3 separate regions of the Homo sapiens genome follow, and regions 1 and 2 are each linked to region 3. Evidence: promoter capture Hi-C in 16 types of primary human blood cells and fetal thymus (Javierre and others, 2016). All regions are on one chromosome and are shown on one strand. Each heading gives the region's core, a stretch centred on a gene start or on the middle of the fragment in contact. The rest is flanking DNA. Distances are from core to core; before and after follow the strand shown. Region 1 overlaps CTSC (cathepsin C). Region 2 overlaps LOC101929174 (a long non-coding RNA gene). Region 3 holds the start of CHORDC1 (cysteine and histidine rich domain containing 1).

Region 1 (3,400 bases), core at 759-3,258, 1.9 Mb before region 3:
AATGTTGCCTGGCTTGGGATGATTTGTACATGTACATTTTTAGTGGCTTTTACAACTACATAAAACAGAAAAAGTAACAACATTTCATCTCTTCCTTCCAAAACTAATAAAGTCTAATTTGAAATCTCCTGTTTGTGTGGTTTAGTCAGTTATAGATTTAATTTAACAGTAAACATTAACTGCAGTTTATAGTCTGAATTGTGTCCCCCTCAAAATTCATACGTTGAAATTCTAACCCCCTGTATCACAGCCATATGACTGTATTTGGAGACAGAGCTTTAAAGAGGTCATTAAGGTAAAATTAGGTCATATGGGTGGGCCCCAATCCAATATGACTGATGCCCTTATAAGAAGAGGACATTAGGACAATCAGAAAAGACTGTTTAGGAGCCCAGTAAGCAAGCAGACATCTGCAAGCCAAGGAGTGTGGCCTTGGAAGAAACCAAACCTGACAACACCTCAATCTTGGACTTCTAGCCTCCAAAACTGTGAAAAAACAACCTTCCTTAAGCCACCCAGTCTGTGGTACTTTGTTATGGCAGCCCTCGCAAACCAACAGGCTGCATAAATACTAAGAACTTTGATTTCAGTTATTTATGGTCTTGTTTAAAAGTTGCCCAATTAGTATCACCTATACTTGTTGCAGCATAAACATACGTATCTACTTGTATCATGCAACATGTTATTACATGGCAATAAGCAAAATGGCTTTTCTTTATTAGTAATTTGCAATTCTGTGGTCCATTACATGATTTCATTTAAAGTAATCATTGGTCCATTACTTTTGGAACACTTTGAAAAAATACTCTCAATAATGTTGGTCAATTTATTTTTCCAGTAAGGTTTTACATAGCATGCCTAATATTTCTAAGCCAAAGATATTTTGTATAATCAAACTAAAATTCCAAAAATGTACACACATATTCATATATACTATAAAACAAAACTAAACGTATGTCTCATTTGTAGCAACTCACTTTTCCTGAGAATTCTTAAGGTGTGCTATGTTGACATACACATTCTCAGAGGCAGTTCCCACCTTCTTTCCGGTGAAACAAGCCCAGTTCCGGCCCAACACATCATGCACCCACCCAGTCATTGTCTCGTTGCAGTAAGTGGTCACCTTGCTGCCCTCTTCTTTATACTGCAAACAAATAAGAGAAAAGAAAACCAAGTAAAATCTGTCTTCAAATTTCAGGTCCATTTCCATGGCTCTCATTCACAGTAAATGTGCCCCTTTCAAAACAAAAACTTCACCCTGAGAGGTTACACTGTAAGAATTATTCTAGAAAAAGAAGACATACAAACTTTTCTGTGGTTAGCACTGTTGGCCACCAAACAAAATGTATATAACAAAACACTTCCAGGAATGAAGGCCAAGGGAAAACAAAACAAAACAAAACAAAAAAGAAAGAAAACAGACCATCTGGCATATTCAAGGCATTTTTCAAAAGTGACTTCACAGTCCTTACAAGAAGACTATGAGGATGCAGATGATAATAACCACATTTTACCAAGGACAAAAGGAGCTCAGCTCAGAGATAAGGAGCTCCTACCAAGGCAACAGGCGAAGTGGCAGAAACAGAATTCTCCTCAGTCTATCACACTACAATTTTCCACTGAGACAAGGGCCACACTAGGAAACTACAAGAACAAATGATGAACTTTTTTTTTCCAGGGATGGAGTCTTGCTGTGTTGCCCAGGCTGGAGTGCAGTGGTGTGATCTTGGCTCACTGCAACTTGCACCTCCCAGGTTCAAGCGATTCTCTTGCCTCAACCTCCCGAGTAGCTGGGATTAAAGGTGCTTACCACCACGCCTGGCTAATTTTTGTATTGTTTAGTAGAGACGGGGTTTTGCCATGTTGGCCAGGCTGGTCTTGAACTCCAGACAAGTGATCCACCCACCTCGGCCTCCCAAAGTGATGGGATTACAGGTGTGAGCCACAGTGAAACAGAATCCTTTTTTTCTGTCAATCTCTCAATTTATTAGCATATTCTGATCATGAGGGGGCTAAAGTAACCTGAGTATTAAATATATTCTTTACACTTTATTTCAGTAATATGGCCTTTTGTCTTATTTCAGTGTTAGAACTGAAAAATAACTATTATTTTTAACAGATCCAGGATTTGAACTAAGATGCTCTGGCTCCAGAGCCTAGTCACCCTCATGTTAGAACATCTCCTCATGGAGGCGGGGCACATGATCCAGGATGACTGTGTAGCATGTGGGAGACAGAAAGGGAAAATGCTGTGCTAAATTTCTGAGGAGAGACTTGGGCACAGACAATTTCAGGCTCTGACTTAATTTAATAGAAAAGACTATTTGTAGAACCTTGGGCAAGATTTTACGAGGCTTTAGTTCTGTTGCCTGTAAAATATGGAAAGTAGAAAAAAAAATCCTCAAAGGTATAAACATTCTGGGATTCCATGATCAAATGCAGGGTTTGGTAAACACTTCCTATAATGGCCAGACAGCAAAGACCACTAGGCTTTGCAGGCCACTTAGTTCTCTTGCAACTGTTCAACTCTGCCCTTGTAGCACAAAAGCCATCAAAAGCAAGACTCAAACAAATTGGCACAGGGGTCAACTATGTTTCTATAAAATTTCTGTTTACAAAAACAGACAGTAGGGTGGTTTTGGCTCCAGAGGTTGTAGTTTGTGGACTCCTGCTCTACTCTAATACACATTATTTCACTTGTTTGCAGAGGTTGGCAAACTTCTTTTTGAAGGACTAGATAGTAAATATTTTAGGCTTGAAGGCTGGAAGACCTCAGTCACAACTACTCAACCTAAAAGGTGCAAAGGGAATACATAAATGAATGAGCTAGGCTGTGTTCCAATAAAACTTTACTTACAAAAAGAGGTTTGTAGTTTGCCAACCCCCAGTTTAGAGAAATGTGTGGGCTAAACTACACTTAAAGTTAAAATTACCTTATTGCATCTGACTCTCTGAATTCAAATCATATTTAGGGGGAGAGTTAAAAATGTATGGCTTTAGAATCCAGAAAAACTGGACTTGAATTGTGGGAATCACCACTCACTGTGTTATATAGCACAGGAAAAGTTACTCTGGGCTACTCATATCCGCATCTTGCTTTTATCTTTGGTGATATTCATGATATTCTCTTTTTTTCAGACAGAGTCTCACTCTGTTGCCCAGGCTGGAGTACACTGGCGAGATGTCGGCTCACTGCAACCTCCGCCTCCCAGGTTCAAGCGATTCTCCTGCCTCAGCCTCCCAAGTAGCTGCGACTACAGGCATGTGCTACCAGGCCTGGCTAATTTTTGTATTTTTAGTAGAGATAGGGTTTCACCATGTTGGCCAGGCTGGTCTCAAACTCCTGACCTGAGGTGATCTGCTTCCTTCAGCCTCCCAAAGTGCTGGGATTACAGGTGTG
Region 2 (3,396 bases), core at 442-2,941, 1.9 Mb before region 3:
TGAAGAGCCAGTTTAGGTGGAAATTTCTTTGATGAATGTAATCAAAGCAACACACTTAATTGTAAAGAAAGTTTAAAACAGTCTTTATTCAATGATTGAATAATAGAAAAAGATCTTGTGGACCTCTTAGTCTAATGGATTCATTTTAAAATTGGGAAATGGAGATTCAGAGAGTTAAATCACTTGCTGAATGTCATATTGCCACTTAGTAAGATTTAAGAATGAACCTCAGGCACATTGATTTTCAGTTTAGTTTATTTCTACTAATCTAATAATTCCCATACTGTTCTCTCTCAAAAATAACTACTAACTCTCCATTCCACGCACACACAAAAAATTGATTCTCAAACTGATCAGACCCCAAATCCTTTACTTTCTGAAATGAAATTAATATATAAACTGCTTACACACTTAATAAAAAGAAATGTAATGCCAAATGTAATATAAAGAAGAAATCAGATATTTTAAATATATTTCTAGTATAATAAGTTATATCCCATCATGTAAAATGTTCAAGTATGACTGTGTTGGAAAACATAATGAGGCACTCAGATACTTGCTCTTCACACTTCTGTAACCACCCAATGGATTCACCTGGCCTGCTGCCTAGACAGAGCCAATTTATCAAGACAGGGGAATTGCAATGGAGGAAGAGTAATTCATACAGAGCCGGCTGTGGGGGAGACGGGAGTTTTATTATCACTCAAATCAGTCTCCCCGAGCATTCAGGGATCAGAGTTTTCAAAGATAATTTGGTGGGTAGGGGCTTGGGAAGTGGGGAGTGCTGATTGGTTAGGTTGGAGATGGAATCATAGGGGGTCTAAGTGAGTTTTTCTTGCTATCTTCTGTTCCTGGGTGGGATGGCAGATATGGTTGAGCCAGATTGCTGGTCTCAGTGGTGTCAGCTGATCTATGGAGTGCAGGGTCTGTAAAATATCTCAAGCACTGATCTTAGATTTTACAATAGAGATGTTATCCCCAGAAGCAACTTGGAGGGTGGGAGGGTGCAGACTCTTGGAGCCAGAGGCCACATGACCCCTAAACTGTAATTTCTAATCTTGTAGCTAATTTGTTAGTCCTGCGAAGGCAGACTGGTCCCCAGGCAAGAAGGGAGTCTTTTTGGGAAAGGGCTATTATCAATTTTGTTTCAGAGTCAAACCATGAACTGAATTACTTCCCAAAGTTTGTTCCACCTATGCCCAGGAATGAAAAAGGACAGCTTAAAGATTAGAAGCAAGATGGAGTCGATTAGGTCTGATTTCTTTCACAGTTGTAATTTTTGCAAAGGTGGTTTCACTTCTATGTAAAATTGTAGAATCGTGGTAAATGTGATAGGAACTTTTTTCTGAGAGCACAAATGATTTCTGATGAGTTATAACTCAAATACCTTATCAATTAATCACTCAAACACCATACCAAAGTTGTTGATGTTGGACAATTCTTGGTCAAATTCCCAGGAGAACAAAGTAGAATTTTCTGTTGAAGGTTTATCAAGAGGTTGCATTCCCAAAAATTCAGTATATGTTAAAATTATATAAAACAAAAGTGAGCTTATGTGCAAAACATGGTCTGTCAGTAGGCTCCCATCATTAAAAGCAGGTTTACAGAGAGGCAGCATTACTTGGCAGTGGTTCTCAAAGTGTAGCCTAGGACCAGGGACATCAGCATCTGTCTTAGTCTGTTTTCTGTTGCTAGAACTGTACCTGAGACTCGGTAATTTAAAACAAAGAAAATTATTTTTTATAGTTCTAGAGACAGGTAAGTCCAAGGTCAAGAGGCCCCATCGAAGGGGGCCCTTCTTGCTGGTTGAGACTCTTTGCAGAATCCCAAGGTAGTACAGGGTATCACGTGGCAAAGGGGGTCATGAGAGATGGCCAAACTAGTGCTTATTACAGACCCACCCTCATGATAACTAATCCTTGATAATTCCATAATCCATTAATCTATTAACCCATGATAGATTCATCCATTCATGAGGGCACTGCCAATCACTTCTCAAAGGTCCCACCTCTCGACACATGACTTTTGGGGGACAACCTATGTTCAAACCACAGCATTCTGTCCCTGACCCCCAGAATTCATGGCCTTCTCACAATTCAAAATACAGTCATTCCATCCTAGTAGTCCCAAAAGACTGAATTTGTTCCAGCACCAACTCAAAAGTCTAAAGTGTCATCTGGGAGTTTGTGAAATCAAAACAAGTTATCTACTTCCTAGATACAATGGTGGGACAGGTATAAGGTATACACTCCCTTTCCAAAAGAGACAAACAGGCCAGAAGAAAGAAGTAACAGGCCCAAGCAAGTCAAAAACTCAGCAGAGAAGACTTAAATTTTAAGGCTGGAGAATAATCTTTCTTGATTCCATGTACAGCATCTTGTGCACATTGGGGGATGGGGTATTTCAGGAGGCCTCAAGGCACCCTGGTGCCCTCAGCTTTCCCAGGCAGGTATTGCATGCTGCTGGTGGCTCTACTGTTCTGGGGTCCTGGTGGCAGTCTGGCTCTTACAGCTGCATTAGGCATTGCCCTTAGGGGGGCTCTATGCAACAACCCCAGTTCCACTGTTCCACTTCGTATTGCCCTAGTGGAAGCTCTCTGCAGTAGCTCTACCCTCAGACAGTCCAACACATTCTTCAAAATCTAGGTGGAGGCTGCCAGGCCTCCACAGCTCTTGCATTCTATGCACCTGCAGAATTAGTACCACATGGATACTGCCATGGTTTACCACTTGTACATCCTAGAGCTGCAGGTTAATCTGCACCTGTGGCTGCTTGAACCACAGCTGGGGGCGCTGAGGAGCAGTGTGCTGGAACGCAGGGAGTAGAGACCCAAAGCAGCCCTGGGCAGCAGTCCATCCCCGGAATTATTCTGCCCTCTTAGAGCTCAGGGCCTATGAGGAAGGGGCAGCCTCAAAGATCCCAGAAATGCCTCTGGGGTTTTTAATTTCATTGTCATGGATAGCCTTTGGCTTCATTCTATCCATGGTGACCTCTTTAGCAATCTCTTGACCATACCCAAACACCCCTTTCACTGTTAAGGTGGCCAGGCTTCAAATTTTCTAATGTTTTTCTATTCTGTTTTTTCTTATATCTTACTATAAGTAGTTAAAAGAAGCCATTTAGTAGCCTAAATACTTTGCTGCTTAGATATTCCTTCCACCAGATATCCTAGTTTATCACTGTTAAGTTCTGCATTTCATAAAGTCCTAGGACATGGACAGAATTTAGCCAAGGTCTTAGCCAGTTTATAGCAGCGATGGCCTTTACTCCAGTTTCCAATACCTTGTTCCTCATTTCCATCTGGGACCTCATCGGAATGGTCTTTTCTATTCATATTTCTATCAGCATTCTGATCATGACCACTTAAATGATCTCTAAGGAGTTTCAGACTTTCTC
Region 3 (3,368 bases), core at 377-2,876:
AGTTTTGAGACGGTTTTCCTGGTCGCTTTCTGTTTCCTAGGCACTGCACCAATTCACACATGGATACAGACTTCCAACAAATGACTATCGCCCCTGAACTTTATTGTCTCATAAGCAAAGCGTCAGTCTTTCCCCTGTATTCTATATTAAAGTAGAATATCTGCAGACATAAGTGCAATTAATGTTTTACATAGGCTGCCAACACCAAAGGGCTTTAAAATCGTTTCTCGATTTTGTCATCGACTGAAATCTCACAATTTTCCTCATGAGTAGCATCATATTTGCATCATAAAAATGTCAGTGGCGGTAACTTGAGTATTGCATAGGTTGGATTTTCCTTTTCCTTAAAACTCTGTATCAATGGTCTTATTTTAAATAACGCTATCAATTTACCTGTGTGCCAAAAATAAGTATTTCAAACATCTCAGAGGTGAAGAGTTCAAAAGGCATCAGTTTTCATCTCCTCCACAATAATGAAGGATGTTATTAATACAACCTCATTGAACTGAGCTTCTCTATCAAATGGGTCTAATTAACATTACATGCGTCCCAGGGTGGTTATGAAGATTAAATAAGATAAAGCAATAATGGCTGGCATGCAGAAAATATAAACTAAATGCTAGTTCAATCTGAAAACGTGTTGTCACTTCTCACGATACGCAAGGAATCATCTCACTTCTTTGTCAATCAAAATTTCAATTCACTGATCATTTCCCGTCCTTCACCTAATAGTCATTTTCGCTTTGGATCCTTAACTCGACATCTAGGTGCTGTAGATGACATTCACTCATTTTATACGGGAGTAGGCATGGTAGTAAAACGTGGAGGCCACAAGAAGAACAAGCAACAAATGCCGCTAGTAATAAAAAGATAACTAACGTACCACCAGGATGAACCTATCAAAACAGCGTGAAGATACAGAGTAATGTCCCTTACCAAGAACACTTGTAAGAGGTTTGTAACAGCGGATCGACTGAACACAAACTTCTACAAGGCAGAGCTTACATGCTAGGACAACCCGCTGCTCATCCCGGCCACCTCTCCCTCTCGCGCAGGCAATCACAGCCATCACTACTTCGGGAACTACAAAGCAAGCTCACCAGTACCTCGTTAATTTTTGCTTCCCCAGAGACTGGAGGGCCAGAGGAGAAACGTGTTCGTTCTAAATTCCAGGCGACTTAAAAGGAGTGCGGGGACGACGGGGGAAACACGTGGATCCATGGGAGCGTCTCTCTCCGCAGTGGCAGAGGACAGTCAGGCGCCGGGGCCGGGCGCTCGCCAAGGGAACGCGGCGCAACAGAGGGGCGGCCGGCGGGCTGCGCGGGCAGCCAAGGGAGGCCCAGGAGGGGCATGGACCTGGGGCCGCGCGAGGACGGCTGCAGGAGATCCGCGGACACCCTCCGGCCCAAAGGGCCTCCCCTGCTGATGAGGTGGAGGGGAGGGAGGGCTGGCGGCGCGTTCCTCTTACCGTCGGAATTGGTCTCAGGATCGAAGCGCTGACCGCAGCCCCGGTTGTAGCACAGCAAGGCCATTTTCTTTTCCCACCGTCACAGGCAAGGCCCAAACACCGGGAACGGCAAGAGGATGCGTTTGCCACTCCCGTGTCGCTAGCACCGGTCTGACGACTGAGGCGGCTACCGGCTTCCGGAAACGATCCGTTGCGTTTCAGGAACCTTCGCGAATTTTCCGGTCGCGCAGGCGCAGAGGAGAAGGGACGAGGCGGAGGTAGCGGCGGGAGGCTGGCACTAGCCCGGGCCACGATAGGTCGGACTACAGCTGGTAGCAACTGGGGGTCGGAAGTGGAGCCCAGACAACAGCGGAGGAGAAATTTCCGGGGCAGAAAATGAAGGTGTCCGAGAGACTGACAATTCTCTTCTGACTTCCTCAGTGCTAACTGGCTTTGGGTATCTCCTGCAGCAAAGTGGCCGCCCCGCCCTCTCATCCCCTGCGACCCAGCACCCTTCTTCCTTGCCTTGAGGCTGCGCCTTAGACAGCCCGGTGGGTATCTGTTTACCCCTTAGCACTAAGGGATAAGTGCACAGTAAGTGCAGAATCATACAGTGTTTCCAAATCCTCAGGGTAGACGTGTGAGCTTAGTAAATGAGAGGAATAGCGGACGAACCTCTCCGTGTGTTTGTGTCTCGAGTGCCCTCATCTCAGGAGCAATTTTAATAACTTAACAGTTGCGGTCACATTACTTTGAAAATACAAAAAACGTAGAAATCAGAGTAGCAAAGAAAATTATGGATCTGATGCTGTGCCAGAATTGATCACAGTTGCTCTAAAGCCCTGGGGTAATAGTTAATATTTCATGTGAGCCTCCACTTAAACGATTTATCAATACTCAGTACACCACTCTTGGAACAGCTAGTAAAACTTCAGGTGCATTATAAAAAGTACAGTAATGCATTGGCTTCAACTTGCATATTTCCCAAACATGGGCGTTTGCAAGAAAAGCAAACACTTTTTGATAACATATACTGAAGGATCTTAAAATAAGATCAGCAGCTTATAAGTGAACCTAAAAATCTATACACTGTTTCCATTGATCTCAAGGTTATTTAGAGATCTGCTCACGTCCTCCTACCCCTAAAGACTTTTTAGTTTTTCATATTCTCTTTCTCTTCTTCTACCTAGAAGTATTAAATTTTCATATTGTGATCCACCATAGATAGGTATGTTTTCTTCATTTAACCTAACGTGAGTATTTTTCTATTTTGTTTCATAGTCATTGTTACAAATGACGGAGTATTCTGTTGAATAAATGCACTGTAATTTAACCTTTCTCTAATTTCCCCAACTTTATTATATATAAGTTACAGTGCTCAACCTGTGTATTGTTTTTCTTATTTCGAATTTCCCCCTTTAGGAAAATTTTTGGAAAGCGACAGTTCTGGGGTAAAGGGCATAAGGCTTTTTAAATAACTTTAAGATTTTAAAGATATATAGAGCCAATTGCTTTCCGAAAGGTGGTACCAATTTACAATTGCACCGGCTGTGAATGTAATAGACCGTAGAAATTGATCATACACAATTGGAAATGAGTAAGTGGAGAGCTCTAAAAAGTTTTAGTTGTGACCAAATCTGTTGTCTTGAGTATCCTAGTATCAATGCAACATTACCAGGATTGTTAGTGAACTAAACCTTTTAAATAATTTTAATGTTTATTTCTAGTTTTTCATCTGTAGCATTTTACAATCAGAATATAATTGCTTATGGTAGATAATTTGGAAAACGCAGAAGTATACTAAGAACAAAGTCAACAATAATTCCACCACCCAGCAATAAGTACTGAATGGCTAAAATAACTCTTTGGTAAATTTATTTTCAGTGTTTCCTGACACCCCAAGCATTTATAGATATATATG

Evidence for each region. Contacts are between HindIII fragments. The CHiCAGO score rates a contact against its expected background, and 5 or more counts as called.
Region 1: a fragment that was not itself captured here is called in contact with the fragment with the promoter of CHORDC1 in region 3 in 1 of 17 cell types (naive CD8 T cells); the score reaches 5.6 in naive CD8 T cells.
Region 2: a fragment that was not itself captured here is called in contact with the fragment with the promoter of CHORDC1 in region 3 in 1 of 17 cell types (naive CD8 T cells); the score reaches 5.3 in naive CD8 T cells.

Annotation. Positions count from the first base shown.
Region 1 is chr11:88,311,411-88,314,810 of GRCh38, forward strand. CTSC (cathepsin C) reads right to left here. Exons shown (of 7, transcript NM_001814.6): 3 at 978-1,144. Among named protein-coding and RNA genes, the nearest start is that of CTSC, 25 kb to the right of the region's middle. RefSeq lists a silencer at 1,478-1,678. The HindIII fragment of the contact is 7,019 bases long and covers 1-3,400 here.
Region 2 is chr11:88,339,309-88,342,704 of GRCh38, forward strand. The region is part of intron 1 of LOC101929174 (a long non-coding RNA gene); the gene reads left to right. Among named protein-coding and RNA genes, the nearest start is that of CTSC, 3.3 kb to the left of the region's middle. The HindIII fragment of the contact is 3,535 bases long and covers 1-3,396 here.
Region 3 is chr11:90,221,423-90,224,790 of GRCh38, forward strand. It overlaps CHORDC1 (cysteine and histidine rich domain containing 1), which reads right to left and starts at 1,627. Exons shown (of 11, transcript NM_012124.3): 1 at 1,469-1,627. The coding sequence starts at 1,532. It overlaps LOC124902812 (a long non-coding RNA gene), which reads left to right and starts at 1,737. Exons shown (of 2, transcript XR_007062978.1): 1 at 1,737-1,998. The HindIII fragment of the contact is 11,072 bases long and covers 1-3,368 here.